Linked DNA regions of Homo sapiens: regions 1 and 2 are each linked to region 3. The links are contacts of gene promoters, found by promoter capture Hi-C in blood cells and fetal thymus (Javierre and others, 2016). All regions are on one chromosome and are shown on one strand. The core of a region is centred on a gene start or on the middle of the fragment in contact, and the rest is flanking DNA. Distances in the headings are between cores, read along the strand shown. Region 1 has its middle 15 kb from the start of OR7A17. Region 2 has its middle 12 kb from the start of OR7C2. Region 3 holds the start of CYP4F11 (cytochrome P450 family 4 subfamily F member 11).

Region 1 (4,679 bases), core at 1,361-3,860, 1.0 Mb before region 3:
CCTCAAATGATCCACCCACCTCAGCCTCCCAAAGCGCTAGGACTACAGGCATGAGCCACCGTACCGGGCCAGGTTGCTGATTTTCAACCAGGGGTGTTTGTGCTCCAGGAATATTAGGAAATGTTTGGATACACTTTTGGTTGTCACATGTGGGGAAGTGCTACTTACTGGCACATTGTAGATTGAAGCCGGGGAAGCTGCCCAACAACCTACAATGCACAGGACAGCCCACAGCAGAAAGAATTAATGCAAACAAATGTGGACACTGGGGAGGCTGAGACTATTCCAGTCCAGAACTTCCCTAATTTCACTGTATATATGAATCACCTAGGGTTCTTGTTCAAATGTCGATTCTAATTTCAGACATCTAGGACTGGTCCCAACATTTTATACTTTTGACAGTTTTCCTGTTGGTGTTGATGCTATTCATCCTGTTCTGCGGAACACTCTTTGGGGATCGAGGCTGTGGTCAGTGTTAAAGGCAGGTATACATATTTTGAGGCTTTTTCTACCAAGAATCCTACCCTGCTCCTCATGTCTGGTTTAGGAGGTCAAATGTTGGACTCGGTAGCTCAGCTTTTGCATAATCGAGTTTACTTACGCGTAAGTCTTGAACACTTACGGAATGACAGGAAATGAAACTTCTAGAAGTTCCACTTACCTTATGAAGTTTAGGTGAGAAGGAGTAAGACTTCAAAGCCCATTGGAAGTTACTTGGCGCAGAGCAGGTGTTCAATGGATAGCAGATATTTGGACCATGTCCTAGTTTCCCAGTTACTCTGCTCATTGTGACACCAGAAAGGTTTCTTGCTACAGTCTAGCACTGTCCTGCTTTGAGGAGACAGCAAGTTGTGATCATGAAGGGAGACCTCCTTCCAGGGCCCTGCACAAGGAGGAGAGTGCCTGAGAGTCTATCATTCTATGCTTTGTTGACATAAAATCATTCATCATTGTCTCTGTCACCCTCATGCTGGCTCCAAATACTCACAGTAGATATGTCTGACTCTTTAACTATCTTCTACTTTTGAGAATATCTGTAAAGCTGATGTTTCTTAGTGTATCAAATTATCCACCTAATCTTCTAGGAGCTCCTCCAACTCTTCATGGAAATCTTATCTTCCTGGCTTCTAGGTGATAGCATGTAATTCATACATATTTAATGTATACTGAAGTATAAAATGCTTGCATGTCTGTTTTTCTCCCAGTAGATAATTATTTTCCACTTATTTATTAACTCTTAGATAATTAGACACCTCTTTCTGTATTTTTGTGTTGCCTTTCTATGTTGCCTTTAGGAGGATCAGTCTTCTCCACCTTTGGCTCTGGATTTTGATGATGCCTCAACTGGGAGAAGTGTAACACCTACGATGATTGAGACATTCTTTGTCTGATAGGATGTGAGTGGTCATGAGATGTTCAATCTGTGAGAAGAAGCTGTAAGAGGCATTGTGAGATGACACCACTTCTGTTGCTCTTCCTCTTTCAAATTGTCCTTGCTCTATTATTTAAAAGTCCAATAATAACAAATGCTGGTGAGAGTCTGGAGAAAAGGAAATACTTCCACACTGCTTTTGGGAATGTAGATTAGTTCAGCCATTGTGGAAAGCAGTTTCACAGTTCTCAAAGACCTTAAAACAGGATTACCACTTCACTCAGAAATTCTATTATTGGATATATACCCAAAGGAATGTAAATCATTCTACTATAAAGACATATGCATACATATGTTCATCACAGCACTATTCACAATAGCAAAGACATGGAATCAACCTGAATGTCCATCAATAGTAGACCGAATAAAGAAGATGTGGTACTATACAACATAGAATACTACAGAGTCATCAAAAAGAATGAGACTGTGTCCTTTGCAACAACGTGGTTGGAGCTGGAGGCCATAATTCTTAGCAAACTAACGTAGGAACAGAAAACCAAATACCACATATTCTCATTTACAAGTGGGAGCTAAATAATGAGAACACATGGACACAAAGAGGGGAACAACAGATACTGGGGCCTCCTTGAGTGTTGAGGGTGGTAGGAGGGTTAGGATAAAAAAAACTATGTATCAGGTATGCTTATTAAGCGGGTGACAAAATACTCTGTACACCAAACCCTCACAACAAACAGTTGGCTTATATAGCAAACCTGCACATGTACCCCTGAACCTAAAATAAAAGTTAAAAAAAGATTGTCCTTACTGCCCAACATTCAAGAGCTAATTAAGCTTGGATAGTCCTATGGCTGAATATTTTTGTCTTGTCCAGGATATATATGTCCTAATCCCCAATGAGAAAACTTCCACAATGTAGACTCTGATGTGATTTTTTAAAAGCATGACTTTAAATCATTTATTATTGGGATGTTTTGTTACACAACATTAGATTACTGATACAATAATCAAAGCAACATAACTAAAGATATTCAGAATTATCTTTTTTTAGGTGTCAGATCCTTTTGTTTTTTAGTTTTTTATTGGATTCACTGTATACAGAATATTCTGTTGGCTCTTTTTTTTTGGTGCTTTTTCTGATATCAGAAAGCAGTGTTCATAATTATATGGATATTTATATTTACTTCACATAACTGTATCATAGGATGACTACTTTTAGATTTCCTCTAGGTAACCAGAAGAGTTTGGCAGGACATGTATATTTTTGCTGAAACAAATTGCAACCTGGAATCTCAAGTCTCTAATCTCACATGCAATACTGGGAAGAAATTCAAGCTCTTATGTGAGTCATCATTAGAGAGTTTGGAGTATAAAAGAGATAAAGCAAGTGATGATACAGTAAATACACATATCCTTCACTTACCTCCAGTTTAATGCTTGTGACATAATTTATTAAAGGGAGTGATAGTTTTAGAACAATGCAAGAAGTCATATTTGTAGCACTGGAAACTTTTAATCAGAAACAGAAAGATGATGCAATCAAATAATGTAGATCATGACACCAAATCCTTTACCTAAATGAACAAACCTCATTACCCATGGACAACAAGCTTCCACCCTTTAATGAGTTGTATTAGTCCGTTTTCACACTGCTGATAAAGACATACCCAAGACTGGGTAATTTATAAAGAAAAAGAAGTTTAATGGACTCACAGTTCCACGTGGCTGGGGAGGCCTCACAATCACAGCAGAAGGCCAAAGGCATGTCTTGCATGGCGGCGGGCAAGAGAGCATATGCAGGGGAACTCCCCTTTATAAAACCATCAGATCTCATGAGACTTATTCACTGCCATGTGAACAGCATGGGAAAGACCTGCCCCAATGATTCAATTACCTCCCACCGGGTCCCTCCCATGACACAAGGAAATTATGGGAGCTACAATCAAGGTGAGATTTGGGTGGAGACACAGACAAACCATATCACACACCATCAAAAACAAATCTTCCACGATAATCACTGCATGACTGAAAATTTTAGTCCATCATATTTAAGGTCGTCTCTGAATCTGAGGCCATATGAAGTCAATTGATTCATGCAAATGTGTCTTTCTGTGTAGACTACACTAGGAACATGTATGTTATAAGTAATATTCGCCTTCCTCCTCTTTACCAGGGAATATAGTAGGCAGTGTAGACACTGAGCTGGATAGCAGACAGGATCCTAATGAGGAGAATAAAATGCCATGATGATTATAAACACACCAGCATGGTCAAGTTTACATAATCAGGAAGAACAGTAAAGGTAGTAAGAAATGAAGGACTCAGAAGTAAAAAACTGTGATCTCAGATATTCATCTATAATATGATTATACCAATGACCTTACATTTGCCAAGTGCAATTGATTTTTTAGGACTGATACAACTCTCTAGTGTATTAGACAAATAGGAATCTCCAAAAGTGTTTTACCCTAGTTTGGAAATAACTATGGGAAATTAGGAAAATGACAAACAAAAAGTAAGTTGGATATCAGAGCAGAAAGCTTTCTAAAGAAATAGCATAAGTCTGACACAGCACTTGAGAACAAGGAAATTAAAACTCTAGAAACTGAATAGAAGCAGAACATTCTCTTTCCCTCCTTCCATGATCTGATTCGTGAATCACAATGTTTGAGTTCGGTTAGAGCTTTGAAATCACATGTACTTCTTGAAAGATGCTCATTTTATTTCTTCCTTCTGAAGAATTGTTTTAGAGCCCCCTTTATGTCTTTATTCCTCAGACTGTAGATGAAGGGGTTCAGCATGGGGGTGACCACAGTGTACATCAGAGGCTGTTGCACTTGAGAGTGAGTTGTGGGTTGCAGCAGCACTAAGGTACACCCCAAGGCTCATACAATAAAATAAGGAGACAACTGAGAGGTGCGATGCACAGGTGGAAAATGCCTTGTACTTCCCCTGAGCTGATGAGATTGCACGTATGGAGGAAACTGTCTTAAAGTAAGAGTACAGGATCCCAGTGAAACATCCCCTACCTAGAAGCACAGCTGACAAATACATCACCATGTCATTAAGAAAGGTGTCAGAACAGGCACTGCGGATTATCTGATTAAGTTCACAGAAAAAGTGGGGGATTTTCAAGTCTGTACAAAAGAGCAGTGGCAACACCATTAAGCTTTCTATCAAGGAATTCAGGGCACTCATGATCCAGGACGCCAGAACCAGCAGTCCACAGAGCCGAGGGTTCACGATGACCGTGTAGTGCAGGGGGTGACAGATGGCCACAAACTGGTCA
Region 2 (4,479 bases), core at 316-2,815, 1.0 Mb before region 3:
CCCACCTCCACACCTCCATGTACTTCTTTCTCTCCAACCTGTCCTTTGTAGACATCTGTTTTGCCTCCACCAGGGTCCCAAAGATGCTGGTGAATATCCAGGCACAGAGCAAAGTCATCACCTCTGCAGGCTGCATCACCCAGATGTACTTTTTCATACATTTTGTAGGATTGGACAGCTTCCTCCTGACTGTGATGGCCTATGACCGGTTTGTGGCCATCTGTCACCCCCTGTACTACACGGTCATCATGAACCCTCAACTCTGTGGATTGCTGGTTCTGGTATCCTGGATCACAAGTGTCTTGCATTCCTTATTACATAGCTTAATGGTGCTGCAGTTGTCCTTATGCAGAGAGTTGGAAATCCCCCACTTTTTCTGTGAACTTAATCAGGTCATCCACCTTGCCTGTTCTGACACCTTTCTTAATGACATGGTGATGTATCTGGCAGCTGTGCTGCTGGGTGGGGGGATGTCTCGCTGGGATCCTTTACTCTTACTCTAAGATAGTTTCCTCCATATGTGCAATCTCATCAGCTCAAGGGAAGTATAAGGCATTTTCCACCTGTCCGTCTCACCTCTCAGTTGTCTCCTTGTTTTACTGTACAAGCCTAGGAGTGTACCTTAGCTCGGCTGCATCCCACAACTCACACTCAGGTGCAATAGCCTCAGTGAGGTACACTGTGGTCACCCCCATGCTGAACCCCTTCATCTACAGCCTGAGGAATAAGGACATAAAGAGGGCTCTGAAGAATTCTTTGGGAGGGAAACTAGAAAAGGGCCAGTTGTCCTAGGGCTGAAGCTATATCCATGATTGCAAGGCTCAAAGCCTCAGAGCCAGATATTGCTGTTGTTTAATCAGATCATGGAAGTGGAAACTGCTCTTTTTTTTTTTTTTTTTTTTTTTTGAGACAGAGTTTTGCTCTGCTGCCCAGGCCAGAGTGCAGTGGCGCCATCTCCGCTCACTGCAAGCTCCACCTCCTGGGTTCATGCTATTCTGCTGCCTCAGCCTCCCGAGTAGCTGGGACTACAGGCACCCACCACCGCACCCGGCTAATTTCTTGTATTTTCAGTAGAGACGGGGTTTCACTATGTTAGCCAGGATGGTCTTGATCTCCTGACCTCGTGATCCAACCGCCTCTGCCTCCCAAAGTGCTGGGATTACAGGCGTGAGCCACTGCGCCGGGCTGGAAATTGCTCTATTTATTTCCTGAAGTTTCCATTTCTTTTATCTCAACTGCTTCATCAAATTTAAGCAACTCCTATTATTAAGCTTTCCTCTCTCTCTAATATTCAACAGATTTTCCCCTTGTTTTCCTCCTTTCTCAAAGTTATTCCCAACCTTGGGTCAGAAACAATTTGGAGATTCCCATTTGCCTCATAGGGTGATGAGTTGTACTATTCCTATGGAATAAACTACGCTTGGCACTGAGGCCATTTATGTAATTTTATTGGAGAAGAATTTCTGAGGCTATGGTTTTTCACTTTTTGTGTTTGTCATTCATTTCTGTATCACTACCTTAATTGATCTTCCTGATAATGTAGACTTAAACATACTAGGGTATTTTATAGCTGGTTATGGGATTTTTCACTCCCATTAGGATCCTGTTCTCTTCTTGAACTCAGTATTCATGAATTCTACTATATTTACTGGCACTGAGTACTTAGTCAAAAGTTGCTCATCAAATAAATGCTCCAAGCATAGTCTACACAGAAAGACAAACTGGCAAAAATCAATTGGCTTTACATGGACTTAGAGTTAGAGATGACGTTAAATATGATAGAGTAACATTTTCAATTATGTACTAAATTTCTATGGAAGGTTTGTTTTCAATGATGTACATCTACTCATTGAAGTGTGGAAGCTTGTTATTCATGTGTAATGAGGTTTGTTGATCTGAGTGAAAGATTTGGTGTCATGGTCTATATTATTTTATTGTATCATCTTGCTGTTTCTATTTGAAAATTCTAGTGTTACCTACAAATATGACTACTTACATTGTCCAAAAAATATTTCCCCCTTTAACAAATGTAATCATAACACAAAATACAGATGATTGAACAATATGTGTATTTACTTGATCATCAATTCCTTTACATCTTTTATAATCTAAATTCTTTTCAGTCCTCATGATCAAAGATTATTCTGTTGATATCTGGATATTTATATCTTTCCTGAAAGTTGGAAAGTTTTCAGTTATTTTTTTGATAAGCTTTCTGTCTCTTTGTTCATTCCTTCTCTTTCTTGATTCCTGTTAATTCAAATATTTACCCTCCTTATGCTGCCCCATAAAATCCCATAAGTTTTCTTCACTCCTTTTTATTCTGTTTTTCTCCTCTGAGTGTATGTTTTCTAATAATCTGTCTTCAAGTTCATAGATTATTTCTTCTGCTTTATTTCTTCTGCTTTATCAATCCTGCTGTTGACACTCTAGATTGCATTTTTCATTTCATTCATTGTATTTTTCATCTTGAGAATTTCTAGAGTTTTTTTATAATTTCAATCTCTCTGTTAAATTTCAAATTTTGTTCATTTATTGTCTTTCTGATTTTGGTGAATTGTTTCTCTGTATTTTCTTAAAGTTTGCTGCACTTCCTTAAAACAATTATTTTTGAATTCTTTGTCAGAAAGTTCATATATCTCCATTTCTTTCTTTTTATTTAAAATATATAAATAAATATATAATTGTTTTTTAAAAAAATTAAAAATCACAATACAACAATAAAAATAATACAAATTTTTAAATAAAGTATAACAACTATTTACAGAGCATTTACACTGTGTTCAGTATTATAAGTACTCTAGAAATGATTTAAAGTATACAGGAGAATGTGCATAGCTAATATGCAAATACTATGCCATTTTATATAAGGGACTTCAGCATCAGTGGATTTTGTTATATGCAGGGTGTCCTGAAACCAATCCCCTGCAAATAAGGAATGACTTACTATAAAGAAGAAAAGTGAGAGGTTCGCCCAGGAATAAGGCACTGACCAGATGAATGTTTCATCACTTGAACACATGAGCATTGTAAACCCTATAGTAGGTCTTCCCATCTGGTGAGAAAGATCTCATCTTGTTGATTATTCCTTCAGGCAGAAAATTGTCACTCAGAGGGGATGCTGTGTCTCACTATTCTTATTTTCTGGAACTGTTTTAATGGTATTTTATTTGGGCTTTAAAAATCAGTCCTAGCCATGCATAGTGGCTCATGCCTAAAATGTCAGCATTTTGGGAGGTTGAGGCAGGAGGATCACTTGAGCCCAGGTTGTTCCCAGACCAAAGCAAGGGTCAGGCTGCTTATTCTCATGGCCCATTAATGAGATGCAGATGAACTAGGGAGGAAAAGAGTTTTTATTTCTGTAACTGGTTACAGGGAGAAGGCCTGGAAATTACCACTGGATCAACTCAAAAATTACAAAGTCTTCCAGAGTTTATATACCTTCTAAGCTATATGTCTATGTGTAAGTGTGCATTCATCTAAATACATAAGTGATTAACTTCTTTTAATCTATAACTAAGATCTGAGTCCTGAAGACCTTCCTCTGGAGCCTCAGTAAATTCACTTAATCTAAATGGGTCCAGGTGCTGGGGTGATTACCCTTATCTTGTCTCCTGCTAAATCATGGAGGTTTAGGGAGTTCCTTCAGACCCCCAACAAACTTGTTTGTGGAGGCCTGGGGAGTTTCTTCAGACCCCCAATAAAACTTGTTTAATCCTAAATGGGTCCTGTTAAGAATTCCTTCATTATCTTCTCACGTTTCAGGGCCCAGGAAAGGCCTAGGCAAAGCTCTGGGTAGCCTTTTTTTTTTACATTCCAGCCTTTGTATAAAGGCACTGGCCCTATCAGTTTTTAATATTTAACTTAACCACTCAGTCAGTGCTGAAACAGTTGTTAGAGAGGTCTGCTTTAGTAGGACCTAGCCTGCTACAAGGTGTTTGAGACCAGCCTGGCCAACATAGCAAGACCCCATCTCTACCAAAAAAAAAAAATGAAAAAAAAATTAGTCCTTTGTGAATTGTTAAAGACGGTCTATATTCTCTGGAATGGAATAACAAGCAGCATCCAATGGACTTGTTTTGAACCTGTAAAAGTGTAGATACCTGCAGGGTCCTGCCTGGACAGCCAGGCAAACCACCTCTCATCTTCTCTTCGCGTACCTGGAACTTTCTCTATATTGCACCTTCAATAGTAAGAATAGAACTTGTGGCAAAGTCATTGGAATGGTTTTGTTCAGAGTTGTGTGTGGTCCCTGTCCACAACTCCAAGTTAAGTTGCTCAGGACTCAAAGGTCTTTTTAAAAAACAAAAAAACAAAACCTGCCTGCTCGTGCGCAAAGAAACTCCATCTAAAATGTTGAGGCCAGGCGCGGTGGCTCTCACCTGTAATCCCAGCACTTTGAGGGGCTGAGGCCAGTGGATCGCTTGACGTCAGGAGTTTGAGACCAGCCTGGCCAACGTGGCAAAACCCCGTCTCTAC
Region 3 (4,390 bases), core at 1,475-3,974:
GAGAGGAATGAGTGAGTGAGGAGAGGAATGAGTGAGTGAGGAGAGGAATGAGTGAGTGAGGAGAGGAATGAGTGAGTGAGGAGAGGAATGAGTGAGTGAGGAGAGGAATGAGTGAGTGAGGAGAGGAATGAGTGAGTGAGGAGAGGAATGAGTGAGTGAGGAGAGGAATGAGTGAGTGAGGAGAGGAATGAGTGAGTGAGGAGAGGAATGAGTGAGTGAGGAGAAGAATGAGTGAGTGAGGAGAGGAATGAGTGAGTGAGGAGAAGAATGAGTGAGTGAGGAGAGGAATGAGTGAGTGAGGAGAAGAATGAGTGAGTGAGGAGAGGAATGAGTGAGTGAGGAGAAGAATGAGTGAGTGAGGAGAGGAATGAGTGAGTGAGGAGAGGAATGAGTGAGCGAGGAGAGGAATGAGTGAGCGAGGAGAGGAATGAGTGAGCGGGGAGAGGAATGAGTGAGTGGGGAGAGGAATGAGTGAGTGAGGAGAGGAATGAGTGAGCGAGGAGAGGAATGAGTGAGCGAGGAGAGGAATGAGTGAGCGAGGAGAGGAATGAGTGAGCGGGGAGAGGAATGAGTGAGCGGGGAGAGGAATGAGTGAGTGAGGAGAGGAATGAGTGAGCGAGGAGAGGAATGAGTGAGCGGGGAGAGGAATGAGTGAGCGGGGAGAGGAATGAGTGAGTGAGGAGAGGAATGAGTGAGTGAGGAGAGGAATGAGTGAGTGAGGAGAAGAATGAGTGAGTGAGGAGAAGAATGAGTGAGTGAGGAGAGGAATGAGTGAGTGAGGAGAGGAATGAGTGAGTGAGGAGAGGAATGAGTGAGTGAGGAGAGGAATGAGTGAGTGAGGAGAGGAATGAGTGAGTGAGGAGAGGAATGAGTGAGTGAGGAGAGGAATGAGTGAGTGAGGAGAGGAATGAGTGAGTGAGGAGAGGAATGAGTGAGTGAGGAGAGGAATGAGTGAGTGAGGAGAGGAATGAGTGAGTGAGGAGAGGAATGAGTGAGTGAGGAGAGGAATGAGTGAGTGAGGAGAGGAATGAGTGAGTGAGGAGAGGAATGAGTGAGTGAGGAGAGGAATGAGTGAGTGAGGAGAGGAATGAGTGAGTGAGGAGAGGAATGAGTGAGTGAGGAGAGGAATGAGTGAGTGAGGAGAAGAATGAGTGAGTGAGGAGAGGAATGAGTGAGTGAGGAGAGGAATGAGTGAGTGAGGAGAGGAATGAGTGAGTGAGGAGAGGAATGAGTGAGTGAGGAGAGGAATGAGTGAGTGAGGAGAGGAATGAGTGAGTGAGGAGAAGAATGAGTGAGTGAGGAGAGGAATGAGTGAGCGAGGAGAGGAATGAGTGAGCGGGGAGAGGAATGAGTGAGTGGGGAGAGGAATGAGTGAGTGAGGAGAGGAATGAGTGAGTGAGGAGAGGAATGAGTGAGTGAGGAGAGGAATGAGTGAGCGGGGAGAGGAATGAGTGAGCGAGGAGAGGAATGAGTGAGTGAGGAGAGGAATGAGTGAGTGAGGAGAGGAATGAGTGAGTGAGGAGAAGAATGAGTGAGTGAGGAGAAGAATGAGTGAGTGAGGAGAGGAATGAGTGAGTGAGGAGAGGAATGAGTGAGTGAGGAGAGGAATGAGTGAGTGAGGAGAAGAATGAGTGAGTGAGGAGAGGAATGAGTGAGTGAGGAGAAGAATGAGTGAGTGAGGAGAGGAATGAGTGAGTGAGGAGAAGAATGAGTGAGTGAGGAGAGGAATGAGTGAGTGAGGAGAAGAATGAGTGAGTGAGGAGAGGAATGAGTGAGTGAGGAGAAGAATGAGTGAGTGAGGAGAAGAATGAGTGAGTGAGGAGAGGAATGAGTGAGTGAGGAGAAGAATGAGTGAGTGAGGAGAGGAATGAGTGAGTGAGGAGAAGAATGAGTGAGTGAGGAGAAGAATGAGTGAGTGAGGAGAGGAATGAGTGAGTGAGGAGAAGAATGAGTGAGTGAGGAGAGGAATGAGTGAGTGAGCAGAGGAATGAGTGAGTGAGGAGAAGAATGAGTGAGTGAGGAGAAGAATGAGTGAGTGAGGAGAGGAATGAGTGAGTGAGCAGAGGAATGAGTGAGCGAGAAGAGGAATGAGTGAGTGGGCAGAGGAATGAGTGAGCGGGGAGAGGAATGAGTGAGCGGGGAGAGGAATGAGTGAGCGGGGAGAGGAATGAGTGAGCGGGGAGAGGAATGAGTGAGTGGGCAGAGGAATGAGTGAGTGGGCAGAGGAATGAGTGAGCGGGGAGAGGAATGAGTGAGTGGGCAGAGGAATGAGTGAGCTGCCTCCCTCTCTTCTCTGTGTTCCCACACCCCAGCCACCCTCAAAACCCAGCTCCCTGAGCCCCATTCCTGCCCCTCAGGAACTCCATGCATCCTGAGACCCCAGACCCGTCCTGCTGACAAACTCACCAGGCCCTGGTGTCCCCAAAACCAGTTCTGTTTCGGGGGTTGAGGAAAACACTGGAGGCGGCGGCAGTTGTCATAGAAGGTGTAGGTCCAGGCCAGGACGCGGGCCAGGAGCCAGGAGCCTCCAACCAGCAGCAGAAGCAGCCACGGGGATGCTGCCACGGGCCCGAGGCCCAGCCAGGACAGGCTCAGCTGCGGCATCCTGCAGGGCAGACGGGATGGAGGGTGGGATCCTGAGGCCCAGGGAAGGGCCCAGGAAGCTCCAAGGACAGTGGAAAGGGGCAAGGATGGGCAGTGCTGGAGGCAGATCAGGGAAGGCTCTGAGATGGGTAAACAAGAGCTGAGATCTAAAGTCCAGAAATGCCCAATGAAAACCAGCAGCCAAGTGGCCTCCAGTTACACAGAAAGGGAAAGAGAGAGAGAGGCTGATTAGAATCCAAAAAGGCCCAGCCTGAATCACTGGGAGGTTGCCAGGGGTCCAGTTACCAGGAAATCACCAGTCTCCCAGGCCAGCAGCCTTGACCCACCCCAACCTTGGGCAGTCCCCTCCCCATCCCAGGCCAGGACCCTCCAGCCCTGCCACTGCCAGCCTGGCTCCTATCAGAAGCAGCTTGTCCCACATACCCTCCTCTCCCCCTCTGCTAGGAGGTCTTTGCCTCTGGCCCCTGATTTCCGGAAGGCTGTGGGAGGCGAGGCTGGGCTGGGCTGGTCGAGCCAATCCCCATGGACTGGGTGTGTCTTCCAAGCCTGGGCAACCAACCAAAACCTGGCGTAGGGCCAGCTGGGTGCAGAGGAGCCAGCTCAGGGTGACACAGCATGGGCACAGGATCCGCAGGTCTCAACATCTCACACCTGAGTGGGAGGGGATCTTGAGGAAGAGTCAAAGGTGACTCTGAGCCCCAAAGTTTACAGCCACCTTGCCCTTCCAAGGCAAGAGTGTGGCAGATAAAGTCATGAACTTGAGAGTTCAGGTGGCAAGAGAGTGGGGCCAGGCCAACCATTGTGCCAGATCATGTTCTGAGCTCCTCTCCACATGTGGTCCAGGAGTTCATCATGCACCATTTCTCAGTGCAGACTTAGGAGATTCAGAGACAGAAGCTCCTGGCCTCTGGCTTCACAGTCTGGCAGGAGTTCAAGTCCTGCCTCCAGGCAACCCAGGGCCTGGGTCGAGACATGACTGACAGGAGTAGGAACAAACTATCTAACTGTGCTGGGGATTACCCGGTCAGATTTTAGAGATAAAGAGCCCCGCTGGAGGAGAATACCTGGAGGCTAGGTTCAGCATAGGAGGACAGAGAGGGGAGATGGGAGGTAAGGCTGAGAGGGGCCATGAGTGGATGGGGCCAGGGACAGGAGGGCAGAGATGGGGGACCCTGAGTGGAGTCCTTATTCTGCCCTCCCCTTGCCCTAACTGTGGGTAGTGAGCCCCTCCTGGACTCAGGCTTCCCATCTGGGAAATGGGATGTCAGATAAGGCCTTAGAGGGGGACAGAGGAGGGATCACAGGAAAATGGGCCTTAGATGGGGACAGATGAAAGATTCTGAGGAGGGAGTGAAGGGAAGGGGCTGGCAGCTAGCACTTTAGCTGCTGTGTGTCAGTCTCTGCTCTTTGCAAAAGACAATATGCAAAGTTCTTTTACTGTGTACTGGACTCTAAATAAAGCACACCTACCATGTGCCAGGTACTCTGTATACATGTTGTGTACTGTGTGCCAAGTGCTCTATGAAAAGTGTGTCCACTGTGTGCTGGGCGCTCTACAGAAAATCTTGCTTCTTTGTTCTCGGTCCTCTATATAAAGTGAAATTTGTGCGGAGTAACTTATGTAAAGTGTACCTACTCTGCACCTGCTGCTCTATATAAAACACACCTACTGTGTGTCAGATGTTCTATGTAGAGCATGTTTACTACGTGCCTGGTGATCTATGTCAAGTGCACCTACTGTGTGTCAAGTGCTCTACATAAAGCGTGCCTACTCTGGGTGCTGGGT

Evidence for each region. The method cuts DNA at HindIII sites, captures the fragments that hold promoters and counts their contacts. A CHiCAGO score of 5 or more calls a contact.
Region 1: a fragment that was not itself captured here is called in contact with the fragment with the promoter of CYP4F11 in region 3 in 1 of 17 cell types (M2 macrophages); the score reaches 6.6 in M2 macrophages.
Region 2: a contact is called between a fragment that was not itself captured here and the fragment with the promoter of CYP4F11 in region 3, in 1 of 17 cell types (M0 macrophages). The highest score is 5.6, in M0 macrophages.

What each region holds. Positions count from the first base shown.
Region 1 is chr19:14,899,136-14,903,814 of GRCh38, forward strand. It overlaps the pseudogene OR7A3P. Among named protein-coding and RNA genes, the nearest start is that of OR7A17, 15 kb to the left of the region's middle. The HindIII fragment of the contact is 776 bases long and covers 2,223-2,998 here.
Region 2 is chr19:14,927,269-14,931,747 of GRCh38, forward strand. It overlaps the pseudogene OR7A15P. Among named protein-coding and RNA genes, the nearest start is that of OR7C2, 12 kb to the right of the region's middle. The HindIII fragment of the contact is 592 bases long and covers 1,270-1,861 here.
Region 3 is chr19:15,931,805-15,936,194 of GRCh38, forward strand. It overlaps CYP4F11 (cytochrome P450 family 4 subfamily F member 11), which reads right to left and starts at 2,725. Exons shown (of 12, transcript NM_021187.4): 1 at 2,407-2,725. The coding sequence starts at 2,604. The HindIII fragment of the contact is 9,699 bases long and covers 1-4,390 here.